4 separate regions of the Homo sapiens genome follow, and all the other regions are linked to region 1. The links are contacts of gene promoters, found by promoter capture Hi-C in blood cells and fetal thymus (Javierre and others, 2016). All regions are on one chromosome and are shown on one strand. The core of a region is centred on a gene start or on the middle of the fragment in contact, and the rest is flanking DNA. Distances in the headings are between cores, read along the strand shown.

What was found. The method cuts DNA at HindIII sites, captures the fragments that hold promoters and counts their contacts. A CHiCAGO score of 5 or more calls a contact.
Region 2: a contact is called between a fragment that was not itself captured here and the fragment with the promoter of SLC44A3 in region 1, in 2 of 17 cell types (endothelial precursors and erythroblasts). The highest score is 7.5, in endothelial precursors.
Region 3: a contact is called between a fragment that was not itself captured here and the fragment with the promoter of SLC44A3 in region 1, in 2 of 17 cell types (neutrophils and monocytes). The highest score is 6.9, in neutrophils.
Region 4: a fragment that was not itself captured here is called in contact with the fragment with the promoter of SLC44A3 in region 1 in 1 of 17 cell types (neutrophils); the score reaches 5.5 in neutrophils.

The regions. Positions count from the first base shown.
Region 1 is chr1:94,818,494-94,822,118 of GRCh38, reverse strand. It overlaps SLC44A3 (solute carrier family 44 member 3), which reads right to left and starts at 1,762. Exons shown (of 15, transcript NM_001114106.3): 1 at 1,641-1,762; 2 at 1,063-1,170. The coding sequence starts at 1,667. It overlaps SLC44A3-AS1 (SLC44A3 antisense RNA 1), which reads left to right and starts at 1,887. Exons shown (of 6, transcript NR_160780.1): 1 at 1,887-2,163. RefSeq lists a silencer at 1,569-1,758. The HindIII fragment of the contact is 9,215 bases long and covers 716-3,625 here.
Region 2 is chr1:95,035,571-95,038,760 of GRCh38, reverse strand. The region is part of intron 2 of ALG14 (ALG14 UDP-N-acetylglucosaminyltransferase subunit); the gene reads left to right. Among named protein-coding and RNA genes, the nearest start is that of ALG14-AS1, 24 kb to the left of the region's middle. The HindIII fragment of the contact is 291 bases long and covers 1,742-2,032 here.
Region 3 is chr1:94,586,293-94,589,540 of GRCh38, reverse strand. All of the region lies in intron 1 of LOC105378861 (a long non-coding RNA gene), which reads right to left. Among named protein-coding and RNA genes, the nearest start is that of MIR12133, 44 kb to the right of the region's middle. The HindIII fragment of the contact is 3,067 bases long and covers 73-3,139 here.
Region 4 is chr1:94,603,750-94,607,348 of GRCh38, reverse strand. All of the region lies in intron 1 of LOC105378861 (a long non-coding RNA gene), which reads right to left. Among named protein-coding and RNA genes, the nearest start is that of MIR12133, 62 kb to the right of the region's middle. RefSeq lists an enhancer at 755-1,954. The HindIII fragment of the contact is 2,431 bases long and covers 1,046-3,476 here.

The DNA.
Region 1 (3,625 bases), core at 513-3,012:
AGGCAGGCCAGCTGCTCCCTGCATTTATACAACAGCAGTCTCAGATAAAAACACCAACCATCTGCGAAGTTAAGCAGAAGGTATTGTAGGTGCACTGTCTCTCCCAGCTCCTAGGGGAGAGTTCCAACGTAAGCAACAAAAAACATCTGATTATGTGTTTCAGACCTAACCTTCCACTGTGCCTGTAACCAAGCCTGTCTATGTGAAACGGGTCATAAGTGAACAAATGCCTTTCTTACTTGGAAAGAACAAACATGATATTTTAGGGCCTATTCAGATGGAATTCTTTTCAACAAAGGTAATTACTATCTGGTAGTTATTACCCTGCTCTATAAATTAATCATTTACCATGCAGCAAATAGCATGCCTTATCCTGGCATGGATGATTTCGTGAAAGTGGCCTTTGAAAATGTCGGGTGAGACGTTTTCTGCTGTTACCTACAATTCTAAAATAAGTATAAAAGCAGCAAGATTCGGCTTCCAACAGACTCTCTCAGGATTATAACCGCATAGCCTGATGGAGTTTACCAGCAATCATACATACCTCGAAATTAGAGTGGGAAAAATCATTCCTTGTTAGCTATGGTTAACAGTGTTGGCTGCTAAACACAACATATCTCTCGCGCGCGTGTGTGTGTGATGTTCAGCTAAAGGAAATGCAGTTTATTTCTAGGCTTACCCTGGCTTTTCCTTTGTTAAAGGTGCACCAAAAGCTTGAGGAATATTTGATTTGGGGGTGTGGCAGGTGCTAAAAGAACTTCTGTTCAGTAAGTTCGGAGAGTAAAAGGAGACACATTGGCCTTACTAAATAGCAATCACATTGCAAACTGTTAATTCCCATTTCCTAATGGAGTCACCCCTTAGAACATGGCCTGTAGCAAAAAGACAGCCTTTCTAGCGAGTCTAGGACAAGAATTCTCCCGAGTACAAACTGATGTTTATTGTGGGTTAACGGCAGAAGTCTCTCACTGCAGCACCAACTACGATTTACATTTGGGACAGAGTTATTTCCAGACGTGCACACACACTCTGGCCTCTTTCCTACCAAGCACCCACACTTACCAAACCAGTCCAAAAGAGAAAGAACAGGAATAACCATGCCGTATCTGTGCATTTCCTATAAATCTGGGGTCGCCACTCCCTTTGCCTAGGGGCTCCTTCTGCAGAAACCTTCCAGAAAAAGGGAGAGTTGAGAAAAAGAAGATAAACAGGTGGACTCAACCTGGAAACCGAACCCAAATCTACTCGAAGAGGGGCCAAAGTAACCAATCTTTTTCTAAATTTTTAAAATTAATATTATTTTTTTACGTGGCCACCTGAAGCTCTTTCACACAGCCTTTGAAACACCTGCTCTGCGCGGAGCGGATGTTAAGCCCCCTGCCGCCAAGTGCTTACCTGGAGGTGCACCTGAGGACGACCCCAAGTTTGCGCCCCGCGGCCCGCGTCTCCCCCGCCTCCGCCCCAGCACTGGAGCAGGGTCCAGGTTCCTCCCCGCCAGGTGGCCCCAAGGTACTAAGCGGGGGCGGGATCCCCGAGGCGCGGGAAAGGCGGAAGCGTCCGGCAGGGAAGGTGCGTGAAGGCGGGGGACTCGACCCTTCCCCGGGGCTCCTCCCCCGAGGGCCGAGGCTGCGAGCGCTTACCAGGTACTCGGCGCCCAGGCAGTGCATCGTGCGCTCGCCGGCGGGGGCCGGTGACTGGGAGCCGCCGCCGCCTCCTGTACGCGGAGACGCAGCGCCCGCGAGCCGGGGCCGGGGCCGGGGCTGGGGCTGGGGCTGGGGCTGGAGCCGGGGCCGGGCCGGGGAGGGGCGGGCACGGTGCAGCGCCGCCTCCCGTTCGCCTCTGCGCCTGGCCCGGCGACTGCGGGCGCTGCGGTCCACTGGGTCCGCCTCTTCCCGGCATGGGTTTCTGCCCAGCTCACCCGCTGTCAGCTGGGGTCCTGCTCTGGTGGGAGGAAGAGGCTCAGACGCTTCCCTGCCCTCTCGCCTCAACCACCTCGAGGCAGCGGCTCCCAGGATGTGCACTTTGACGACTAAAGCTGAGCCGGCGCCGCCACGACCTTGGGCGGGTGGTCGGCCTCTGCCCTGAGCAGGAAGTAGAAAGTCTCAGCAGACCCTTCCTGAGGGCCGAGCAACAGTGTAGTGGCGTATTCCACATAGCAAACAGGTAAGCAGCATTTACTGTGTGCTGGATTCTGTTCTCACTGCTATTGTTATTCCTAATCTACGGAGGAGGGAAACTGAGGCACGGCCATTGGTGATGCAACTTGTTCGAGGAGACCCAGTAAGTTGTGGAGGCAGGAGTCGAACCCAGACACTCCGGGAGACCGGCGCTCTCGAGGTGGTTTACTCTGACTTCTCTCCCACCTTGCCTTAGGACAATCATTGCCTGACTTCGCAATTGAAATGGTAGTGTCCACTGAAGCGACTGGTGGCATAGTTTTCCAGGTAGTGTCAGACCAGCGCAAAAGCACTGTTGGGGTGAGGAATTTAAAAAACGAAAAACAAAAAAAACTGCAGGCCGACCTCCCCCCACCTCCTCTCAATCAAGCCTCTACCCTTCCCCCTGCCACCCTTAGGGTTGCTAGGTTAATTGCTTCCTTTAGGTGCTGCTTCTCCCTAAGGGTAGAAACCTGACTGGAGGAAAGATCTGGGTAAGTGGGAGAAACTGGGAATGATAGACAGTGGTTCTCTGGTGCCAGCGATTTCCTTCTGGGCTCACACCACCCTCCCACTGCAAACTCACTGGGCCTTCCTGGATGCATGTTTATCAGACAGAGTAGGTGAAACCCCAGGGGAACATGAATTCATAGGACAAAGAATTAGACACTGGAGGAGTGCAACTACTGTTAAAAGACCACAACTGAATAACATATGCCATCTGAAACTGATCAGTAGAGCAGATGGACCAAGATTTTTAAATAAGCATGATAAATTTATTTAAAATGAGTTATGATATTAGCAATATGAATCAGGAAAAAATATGAAACTAAAACATATTAAGCATAAAAATAATAATTAGAATGAATATTGATGCTACGTATTAGTAATGTGCAATAGTCTAAAAGATGCAGCTGACGATGAATTAGTAATTGGAAGAGCACTTTCAGCAAACCTCCAGAGGCAGTAGAAAATGTTTTAAAAAACAAGTTAGCTTATTTGTAAATTTTCTAGCTTATATCTAGGGTAAAACTAGAACAGAAAGGAAGAAATATAAAAACAGAGAAGGGGAAATATTTGAAGATATAATGGAGATAAATTTCAAGGTAGAAAAAAACCTTCAGATTGAAAAGGTTTATCTCAAGCAAAATGTTTCTATATGTAAGTATTTAAAAGCATAACTTTGAACTTATTTTCTATTAAGCCATATTGTCATTAGAATGTGAGAATGTATTAATAATAAAAATATTCTTATGAAAGATTCATTTGAATGACATTCTTGGAGGACATAATCAAGCAAGAAGAGAAACAAATTCAGGAGATGATACAATAGATATAGCATGAGAGTGGCCAAATATTTAGGCTGAATTTATTGTTGTGTTAGAAAAAAGACCAGGAACCACCCAAGTGTCCAGGAACTGGTGGGTGGCTATACATAACTGTGATGCATCTATACGATGAAATACAAC
Region 2 (3,190 bases), core at 638-3,137, 220 kb before region 1:
GGCAAGAGAGGGAGACCCTGTCTCAAAAAAAAAAAAAAAAAAAACCTTATAGTTTATCACTTTGTTTTTTTTTTTTTTTGAGGTGAAGTTTTGTTCTTGTTGCCCAGGCTGGAGTGCAGTGGTGCAATCTTGGCTCACTGCAACCTCCACCTCCCAGATTTAAACAATTATTTTGCCTCAGCCTCCCAGGTAGCTGGGATTACAAGTGCCCATGACCACACCTGGCTAATTTGTTTTTTGGGGTTTTTGTTTGTTTGTTTGTTTGTTGTTTTTGAGATGGAGTCTCACTCTGTCACCAGACTAGAGTGCAGTGTCACGATCTTGGCTCACTGCAACTTCCTCCTCCTGGGTTTAAGCAATTCTCCTGCCTCAGCCTCCCAAGTAGCTGGGACTACAGGCACGTGCTACCATACCCAGCTAATTTTTGTATTTTTAGTAGAGACAAGGTTTTACTATGTTGGCCAGGATGGTCTCAAAACTCCTGACCTCAGGTGATCCAAACACCTCGGCCTCCCAAAGTGCTGGGATTACAGGCATTACAGGCGTAAGCCACCGCGCGTGGCCAATTTTTTGTATTTTTAGTAGAGACAGGGTTTCACCATGTTGGCCAAGCAGGTTTCAAACTCTTGACCTTCAGGCAATCCACGTATCTTGGCCTCCCAAAGTGCTGGGATTACAGGTGTGAACCACCGCACCTGGTCCAGTTTATTACTTCTTACTTGGTGCTAACATTATATTTAATAATTGTCTCATATTATAGTTATCCCTTTGACTGCAATTATCACTTTTCCTGTGCTGTCCTGATAGACTGCAGTGAGTTCCTTGTGAATGTCTTATTCACCTCTGTTTCCCTAGCCCAGTTCCTGTCACCTGGCAGGTGCTTGTTGAAAGTTTAATGAAGAAACAAGTGAATGAATCCATGCTTAGAGAGTACAGCTCTGAAATTCAATGTCGTAAACAATTGTTTCATACATGATTTTAATATATATATTTTATTTTAAGAAAAGGAATGCAATTTTCTTACCATTTTAAGGACAAAGGAAGGGTGCTTCAACTTCAAGTGACATAAACCTACGCTTAAAATTGGCTTGAACAATAAAGGGAATTTGTCAACTTACAAAACAGGAAAAATTCAGTCTTATTTCTGGCGAGGCTTGGTCCGGTTGCCCAGGCATATCCCTATAGCAAGAGTTGTCTCTCTGCTCTGTCTTCTGCAGTGGCAGCTCCACCGGGCTTCCCACAGTGCTGCCTCCAGCAGCTCCAAGCTCTCTCATTAGGGTAACAAAAACCTGTAGCACCTCCTGGCCTCATGTCTCTTCCTCTTCATGAGGAAGAAGAGGATCTCTTACAGCATATGGGAGAGAGAGCCCCAGCAAACATCTCCTGCCTCATGGTACTCCAGTGGGGTTATACTCCCATCTTTCAGCTAATCATTGTAGCCAGGAATGATTCCTCCATGTTGCTTCAGCCATTCCAGGCCTACTCTTAGAGGCAGGGTTAGGGGTGAAGGGGACAGGAGGCAAATACCACCAAACCGTCCGGCTGAGAATATGAGAGGAATGAGTTACCCAAAGGAAAATTGCGATATTGTCAAAAGAAGGAGTCAATAAAGGCTGAGAGAGAATAAATGTGCATTTATAAAAGGCTTTAAAAATCTTTTGAGCCAGAATCCCATAATTTTTTCAGAAACAAACTACTTTGTTTTTCCCTGAAGTCTCAGACCACCAGGCAAGGAGAAGCTTCTGGAGGTAAAGTGAGGGGTGGTTTCAGGCCCTGGGGCAGAGCTGGAGTGCAGCCTCATTTCTCTTTGACAAGCCAGTCTTGAGCCAGCTGTGGGATCATGGTGGCTAGTTAAGGATCCCTGATCTCAGCTAGCCCTCCTTGCTTCACAGTGGGACACTGAGGTCCAGAGAGCTTGATTCATGCAAAGTAAGTGGTTATCAGCAGGACCCATCATGGGACTGTATTAGTCTGTTCTCATGCTGCTATAAAGAACTGCCCGAGACTGGGTAATTTATAAAGAAAAGAAGCTTGGGCCAGGCGCGGTGGCTCACGCCCTTAATCCCAGCACTTTGGGAGGTCGAGGTGGGCGGATCACCTGAAATCAGGAGTTTGAGACCATCCTGGCCAACATGGTGAAACCCCGTCTCTACTAAAACTACAAAAATTAGCCGGGTATGGTGGCGCATACCTGTAATCCCAACTACTTGAGAGGCTGAGGCTGGAGAATTGCTTGAATTTGGGTTGTGGAGGTTGCAGTGAGCCGAGATCGCACCACTGCACCCCAACCTGGGCAACAGAGTGAGACTCCATCTCAAAAAAAAAAAAAAAAAAAAAAAAAGAGGTTTAATTGACTCACAGTTCCACATGGCTGGGGAGGCCTCAGGAAACTTGGAATCATGGTGGAAGGCACCTCTTCACAGGGTGACAGGAGGGAGAATAAGTGCCCAGCAAAGGGGGAAGCCCCTTATAAAACCATCAGAACTCATGAGAACTAACGCACTATCACAGGGGAACTGCCCCCATGATTCAATTATCTCCACTTGGTCCTTCCCATGGGGGTTATGGGAACTACAATTCAAGATGAGACTTGGGTGGGGACACAACCAAACTATATCAGGGGCCCACAGCACCCTCACTTATATGACACTTCATGGCATTTCATCAGCACCATAAAGTATCTACCAAGTACTTGAAGGACATATAAAAAAAAATTTTGTGGTAAATTATGGTCATCTTGATTTCATAATGATTAGTTGAACCATCCAACATACATTTAAAAATATACATTGCATTATTTTTAAATAGTTATGAAAGAAAGCTGAAACCATTTTTGGTTGAATGAAATTTTACCATTTTAACTTTGTCTTGTTTCCAGGACTTTTCAGTCGTGTGGCATTCACTAAATAATAAAGGTATTGTATGTTTCAGTGTGTGGTAACAGCAAAGAATGACTTCATCAACCACTTGATCTCCTCTGTTGTGGTTTATGATGCCATCTGGATTCTTTGGTGGAATTATTTCCATCTAAATCACTATAAACTCCTATTTAGTTTTCACAAATCTAAAGCCAGATATGTTTGTGGTTTTTAACAGTGATGTAATTCTGGAACATACTTTGAAAGTTACAAGTTGTCATATACTGTTAGTATTTAACTCAGTGTTTCATATACTATCAGACACTAGAAGC
Region 3 (3,248 bases), core at 357-2,856, 230 kb after region 1:
GGGGACTGAGAGTTCCAGAAACGGCAGTGACCATCCTGCATGGGATGAAAGCAGTGTTGTCAGGTTCAAGCTTGCCTGAGAGAGGAAGGTGATTCTTTGCTGGGGGAAAACTAATTAACTAGTTGCCTTGAAAAGTCAACTTGTTTGAAACTGAACGGCCTTCCATTTCGGGATAATTCCTACCTATTTTATTATTCTTTGTTCCTGTTTTGTTTTGTTTTGTTTTGTTTTTTGAGACAGAGTCTTGCTCTGTTGCCCAGGCTGGAGTGCAGTGGCATGATCTCGGCTCACTGCAACCTCCACCTCCTGTGTTCAAGCAATTATCCTACCTCAGCCTCCCGAGTAGCTGGGATTACAGGTGCCAGCCACCATGCCTAGCTAATTTTTGTATTTTTAGTAGAGACAGTTTCACCACGTTGGCCAGGGTGGTCGTGAATTCCTGACCCCTCAGGTGATCCGTCCATCTCAGCCTCCCAAAGTGCTGGGATTACAGGCATGAGCCACCACACCTGGCCTCTTTGTTACTTTTTATTATTTTAAATAATCAGTGAAAACTTTTAAACTTAGTGTTTAAAAAATAATAGTCAGGGCCTGGCACAGTGACTCAAGCCTGTTATCCCAGCAGTTTGGGAGGCTTATGTGGGAGGATTGCTTGAGGCCAGGAGTTCGAGACCAGCTTGGCAAGATAGTGAGACCCCCATCTCTACAAAATTAAATTAAATTAAAAAATAATTATCCCAGTGTAGTAGCACATGCCTGTAGTCTTAGTTGTTCCAGAGGCTGAGGCAGGAGGCTTGCTTGAGCCCAAGAGTTCAAGGCTGCAGTGAGCTATGATTGCACTACGTTTGACATTTCTTTTCAGGACCCAAGCATTTTAAAATTGTCTTAAGATATTCCCTCTGATGAGCTTAAGATACCTGCAGATTTCCACATCATTACTGGCATAAAACACCTTTTTAAAAACCAAATTTTGGTTCTTCTATTAAACAAATATAAAGGTGAATTAATTAATTTAACTGCTCTCCTTTCTTGCTTATTAATTATATTTGGGAAAACTCTACCAACAAATCATATAAAAATAAAGAACAAATGGAACACTTTGAAAACTGCTAGCATTTCTGAGCTTATCTTATTATCTATCCAAGCACTATCCCATAGTCAGTAAGTCATATTTTACAGCTTGGACAGACTTTCCAAAATAATTACTGGATATAGCCATTTTATGGGTACTTTTAGTGTCTTTGTGGTATGTGATGTGATAGTGTTTATATAATTAACAATATCTTATATTTTCAAGGGAAACTTGGAAGTCTGTCACTCTAAATGAGTCTATCACTCTAAATAAATATGTGCTCAAATATGACTGGCTCAGTTTAAGACACAAAACAGCAACTTGAAGGAGGAAAAATGAAGAGAGTTTGTAGTTAATGGGTTAAATTTTTGTTGTTGCAATATTAAGTGTGGTTTTCTTATAATATTTCTAAATGAAAAATCATATGTATTTGTTACCACATATGATGATTACTTTGTTAAAAGCAAAAGTAGTCATGTGGTATATTAAATGTTAATTGCTGTTTTCATATGTTTAAATCATGCCAAACAAATCATGTCTGTGCCATCCAGTGTTTATTGTTAATCTTTCACTGAGTACTTGGATTGGGATAAAAGGCTTATACTGTGCACTTTTTATTAATGAATAAATTGAAAACATTAGTAACACTCAGAAAAAAATGTCTTTTTGTAATCTGTGTTCCATCATCCTTGCATCTGAGCTATTCCAGTTTCCCTCTATCATCAGGTGACTGTAAGAAATCACTAAATAAAATACACAAAACCCATGCCAGCTGGTAATCACCACAGCAATCTTGCCATAAAAGAACATGTGTTTTCCTGAAATCTTTGCAAACAAAAGGAATAATTTAGCTGACAGCTCAAATGACCCCAACAAGAACACCCTGAGAAGTTTATAACATGTTAGACAACAGTGTACAAAATCCCTGATAGAGAAATCTGGAAATCGTTATGCCACCCAAAATCATAAATGCTTGATTATGTTTACTAGGGATGCCATCATGGAAAACTTTGAAAAGTCTTAAAGGATTTTCTTCCAAGGTAAATTAGAAAATACAGAAAGCGCCAAAGATAAGTGAGGGATAGCAGACTGAAATCAGAAAAGGTTTTGGCCAATGGCTTGAGGGTCAGCTGCTTTCGTAAATCATTTTTTAAAAAGTTTTTTTAATGAAATGAAACATACAGAAAGGATATGTATGATTAGTGTACAATCTAAGGAATTTTTGCAAAGAACACAACTGTGTAACCAGCACTTAGAACAAAAAACAATGTCACGAACACCCCAGAAGACACACTGATATCTCCTCCCACAAAGGACAATCCCTATCCCAGTTAGTTTTCCTGTTTCTATATTTCACATAAAATAAATCACATAGTGTGCAAACTTTTATGTCTCGCTTCTTCCACTCAACATTCTGCTTATGAGAGTCACTGGTATTGTTGCATTCGTAGCAGGCTGTTCATTCTAATTGTTATAATGTATTCCACTGTGGTGATTATTCCCCAAACTTACCCATTCTATTAGGCATTTGGTCCAAGTACAGAGAACCAAAATTTATTGTCTGGAGTTGGAAGTTTTTAAAAAATAATCACATATTTGAAAGAGACACACAGGGGATTTTTATGCTGACATACGGAAAGAAAATAGAAGGACCATTTCATTTGTTCAGGCCTCTAACTTTATTCTGTTTTGCTTTTATTCCCCAGCCTCAGGAAAACTTTAGAGTTATGCTTGCGAGAGCACTAACTGTTACAAGGAGGGTGAGATCTGGAGTTCCAGAAAAATAAGAGAGAATCTTGCATCTGGAGCATAAATGATCTTCAAGAAATACACACAGGAAGTTGAACAGGTGTATAAACTTCAGAGAAGCTCTCTGGTCTCTCAAAAATCCCTGTGAATATCTCAGAGCAGCTGAGATGCCTCATTATCCCCGGATGCCTAATTCATTCTCATTATTGTGACTTCAATCTTTACTATCTCAACAAATATGGATATCCAGCCACTTCTCAACCCCAAATTCTCAAGAAAAAGTGGGATCATGAGCTGCATATTTGATCCAATGAAGCTTTGTCAAGTCCTGGGAGTGTCATCTTCTTATTTTAGATATAACTGTGGCCAAAATATTTATCTACCACATAGCTCATATTTTCCTTCTCCAAGAACATAACAGTTGCCC
Region 4 (3,599 bases), core at 1,012-3,511, 220 kb after region 1:
GGGCTTTACACAGGCAGGTGAACAAAGGAATCTCACAGGAATCTCTAGAAAGGATGGAGGCAGGTCTTACTTGAAATATTGGAGGGCAGGATGGTCCTTTGAGATTTTGCCATGGAACACAAAAGGATGGGGGTGTTTTGGAAAACAAAAAGGTAGGGGATTTCTTAAGCTCAGGTAAAGTTTAACCTGTCCCTAATATCCTGCCACCTCCATTTTTCTAAACACTAAGTATGGTCACTTTGTTGTGCTCATTTGCTTCTTACCAGCACCGTAACATGGAGTTCCTTCAGGCAGCACACAAGCCCTTTGTGATCTGATTTCTATCTGTTCCCAATTAGCTGAGGTAGGGAAGCACACAGAGAACACACGAGAGGATCTTGTAGGCCAGAACACCCAGTGTCTCTGCACACCTCCCATTGGCCAGAATGCAGTCTCGTAGCATCCTCAACTGAAAGGGAGGCTGGGAGGTATCACCTAGCTATTTGACCAGGAAGGAGGAAATGGATGTTAGTGGTCACAGCTAGCCAGCTTTGTTGCATGTGCTGTTCCCTCTCTCTTTAGAAATGTCCCTCTGCTTCCTTCCTCGCCTTTCTCTGATTAGAGGGCGCCGGTGCACCCTTCAGGTCATCTAAGTGTGTCTTCCTTTAGGAAATCTTTCTTGACCACCAGTGTGGTCAGTACTCCTTGAACGCCTCTGTAGCACCCAGAATATTTTATAGCACTAACCATATGACTCACATTGTTCACTTTCTCATCAGTCCCCTACATGACACCTTGAGGTCCCTGACATTAGAAGCTGTGCCTTTTGTCTTTCTGTACTCAATGCCTAGTGCTGTTTGGCATTGGATTGTAGGTGATCAATAATGTCTGTCAAATAAATGAATGGCTCCTGGATGGCTTCTAAATGGCCAGGATCTCCAGATGTGCTCCAGAAGGATAATTTCAACCAAGAAGAAGACACAGAAGTTTCCACAGTCACCCTAATAGCTTTCGTTTGCCATCTGGGCCTGGGTCAGTTATCACACTGGGACCCCAGGAAGAAGCTTAGTGTTGTGGATGTTAGAGATGCAAAGAGAGCTCAGGTGCCTTATTTTGAGCTCAGCCCACTAACCGTCTTTACAGCTTGATTAGCCTTTAGAGAGAAAACAGAACTTTGGCCTCAACTTCCTGGCAGGTAAGGAAAGAGATTAGCAGATGCCCATTGTGTGAACCCGGCTAAGACTACAGCCAACTCGGAAGCAAGGCGATGGGCTGGAATGGCTCCTATCCACATGGTATTTTGGTAAGTTAAGAAAAGTTACATAGTGACACACTCTGGTACAGCTTCTGTGATCCCCACATTGCTCTCAGCCAGTTTGAGTCAGGACCAAAGACAGTAAAATCTTATTAACACAGGAGAGAAAGACTGAGTCATTTCCGTAATGACTGCCTCACAGCAGGAATCATTACCAAGCCTGAGAGCGAGAAAATGGCGCTCTCTTTTTATGTGGAATTGTTGGCTGGAGTCTCGCCTTTATGACTTTTGAAGAAGGAATTATATGGTTCATACATCCAAGAACAAATAAAACAGGGTTGCCGGCCGGGCTCGGTGGCTCACGCCTGTAATCCCAGCACTTTGGGAGGCCGAGGCGGGTGGATCACGAGGTCAGGAGATCAAGACCATCCTGGCTAACATGAGAAACCCTGTCTCTGCTAAAAATACAAAAAAAATTAGCCGAGTGTGGTGGTGGGCACCTGTAGTCCCAGCTACTCGGGAGGCTGAGGCAGGAGAATAGCATGAACCCAGGAGGCGGAGCTTGCAGTGAGCCGAGATCGCGCCACTGCACTCCAGCCTGGGTGACAGAGCGAGACTCTGTCTCAGGAAAAAAAAAAAAAAAAAAGCAGGGACGCTACCTCATGGTGTGTGAGTAGTCAGACAGCAATGATACCAGGACCTGGCATCAGTGGGGCAGAGCAGAGCGGGGTGGTGTTGAGGAGGGCCTGGGAGGAGTTGGGTATCTGCAGCTCTTGGGCCTGCCGAGGTCCCCTTGCCACCTCCAGTATTTGTGTTTGAGGTTCATTAGGGCCAAGCGGGTCAGGAAAAGGAATAGAACATAAATTTCATAGCTTTACATGGTTGACTTGGGCTCTGTAAGTGGTAAACCCAATGAAATAAAGGTGAATCATGCCTTTTGAATCCTATGTCTTTATTTAGGTTCCGGTGCTTCTCTTCCTGGTTGGGCTGGTTCTTATCCAGGCCTTTTGAGGGCCATGGAGGGTGTCTGAGGGCACAACAACAGGCCTCCTTTAGGGACACTATGGCCTCAGGACCTTAATTCCCAAATGCTTCTGTTCTCTTTAGCTCTCCTCACAAGAGGGGAAAACTGCTGCTATCTCTCTTCTGTGGAGTTGTAGGTATGTGCCTGCATTAAGCAGAAACATTGAGCTGCTCAGATGATGATGACGATGATAGCTAACGGTCATTGAAACTTACAATGTACTAGGCACTAAGTTAGGGTATTTACATGCAAGATCCTGTTTAAATCTCATAATCACTCTATAAAATATGTACTACATCCACTCATTGTTTTAGGTGGAAAACATCCTGGTGGGGAAGATTCTGAGAAATTCAGCTCCAAAATAGAATCATACTAAGAAACCCACCTAGAAGTCCTGGCAAGGATGTGCTTCTGAATTCCATCATCATTAGTGGTTGTGCCCTGGGAACCAGCACAAGCTCTTTCTTCAAATTTCATTTCAAATTTTATCACTTTTCAACACCCCCACTGTAACGACTTTAATCCACTTACCATCATCTCTCACCTCAGCTACGAATAATAACAGATATTTTTGAGATATTCTTGGGTACCAGGCATTGTTCTACACACTTTACATGTGTGTTATGCCTTAATCTTCATGGTAACACAACAAGGTAGGACTCATGATGGAGACCGCTGCATTGCACAGCTCTGAGTGGCACTGTGCACGCTGCACTCGTCGGACTCCAGGGGGAGATTCTGGAGTTGTACAATGTGGTAACCCTATTACATCTCCATTTTATAGATGAGAGAAGTGAAGTGCAGGTGAGTTATTTAACTTGTCCATGCTCATGCTGCTCATCAATGGCAGACATGCTTCAAACCCTGGCAGTCTGGCCCTGGAGGCTTCCCCACTGTGTTATACTGCCTCTCCGTCCCTATACTAGCCCCCTGGTTGGGGCCTCTGCTCTTGCTCTTCTGTATTCTCCAGTGGCTAAAGTGATCCTTTTAAAGCACATAAACAATATAAGGACTCAAAACTCTCCAATAGCTTCCCATCAATCCTGGAATACAATCTGAACAAACTTCATAGCATGCCCCATGAGGCCCTATGTGATCTTCTCCTCACCCCATGCCTCCAGGCTCCTGTGTGACAACCTTCTCCCAGCTCACTATATTTTTGTTTTCCTGAGACCATACCCTTCTGATCTTTTTGTTTTCCTGAGACCATGCCAAGCTTGTGCTCACCTCAGGGCCTTTGCACATGCTGTTTCCTGTGCCCCTGCCTCATCCTCTGCCTGGATCCTCTCATGGGCCACCTCCTCACCTCATTCAGGACTCTGCCCAAATGCCACTTTCTCC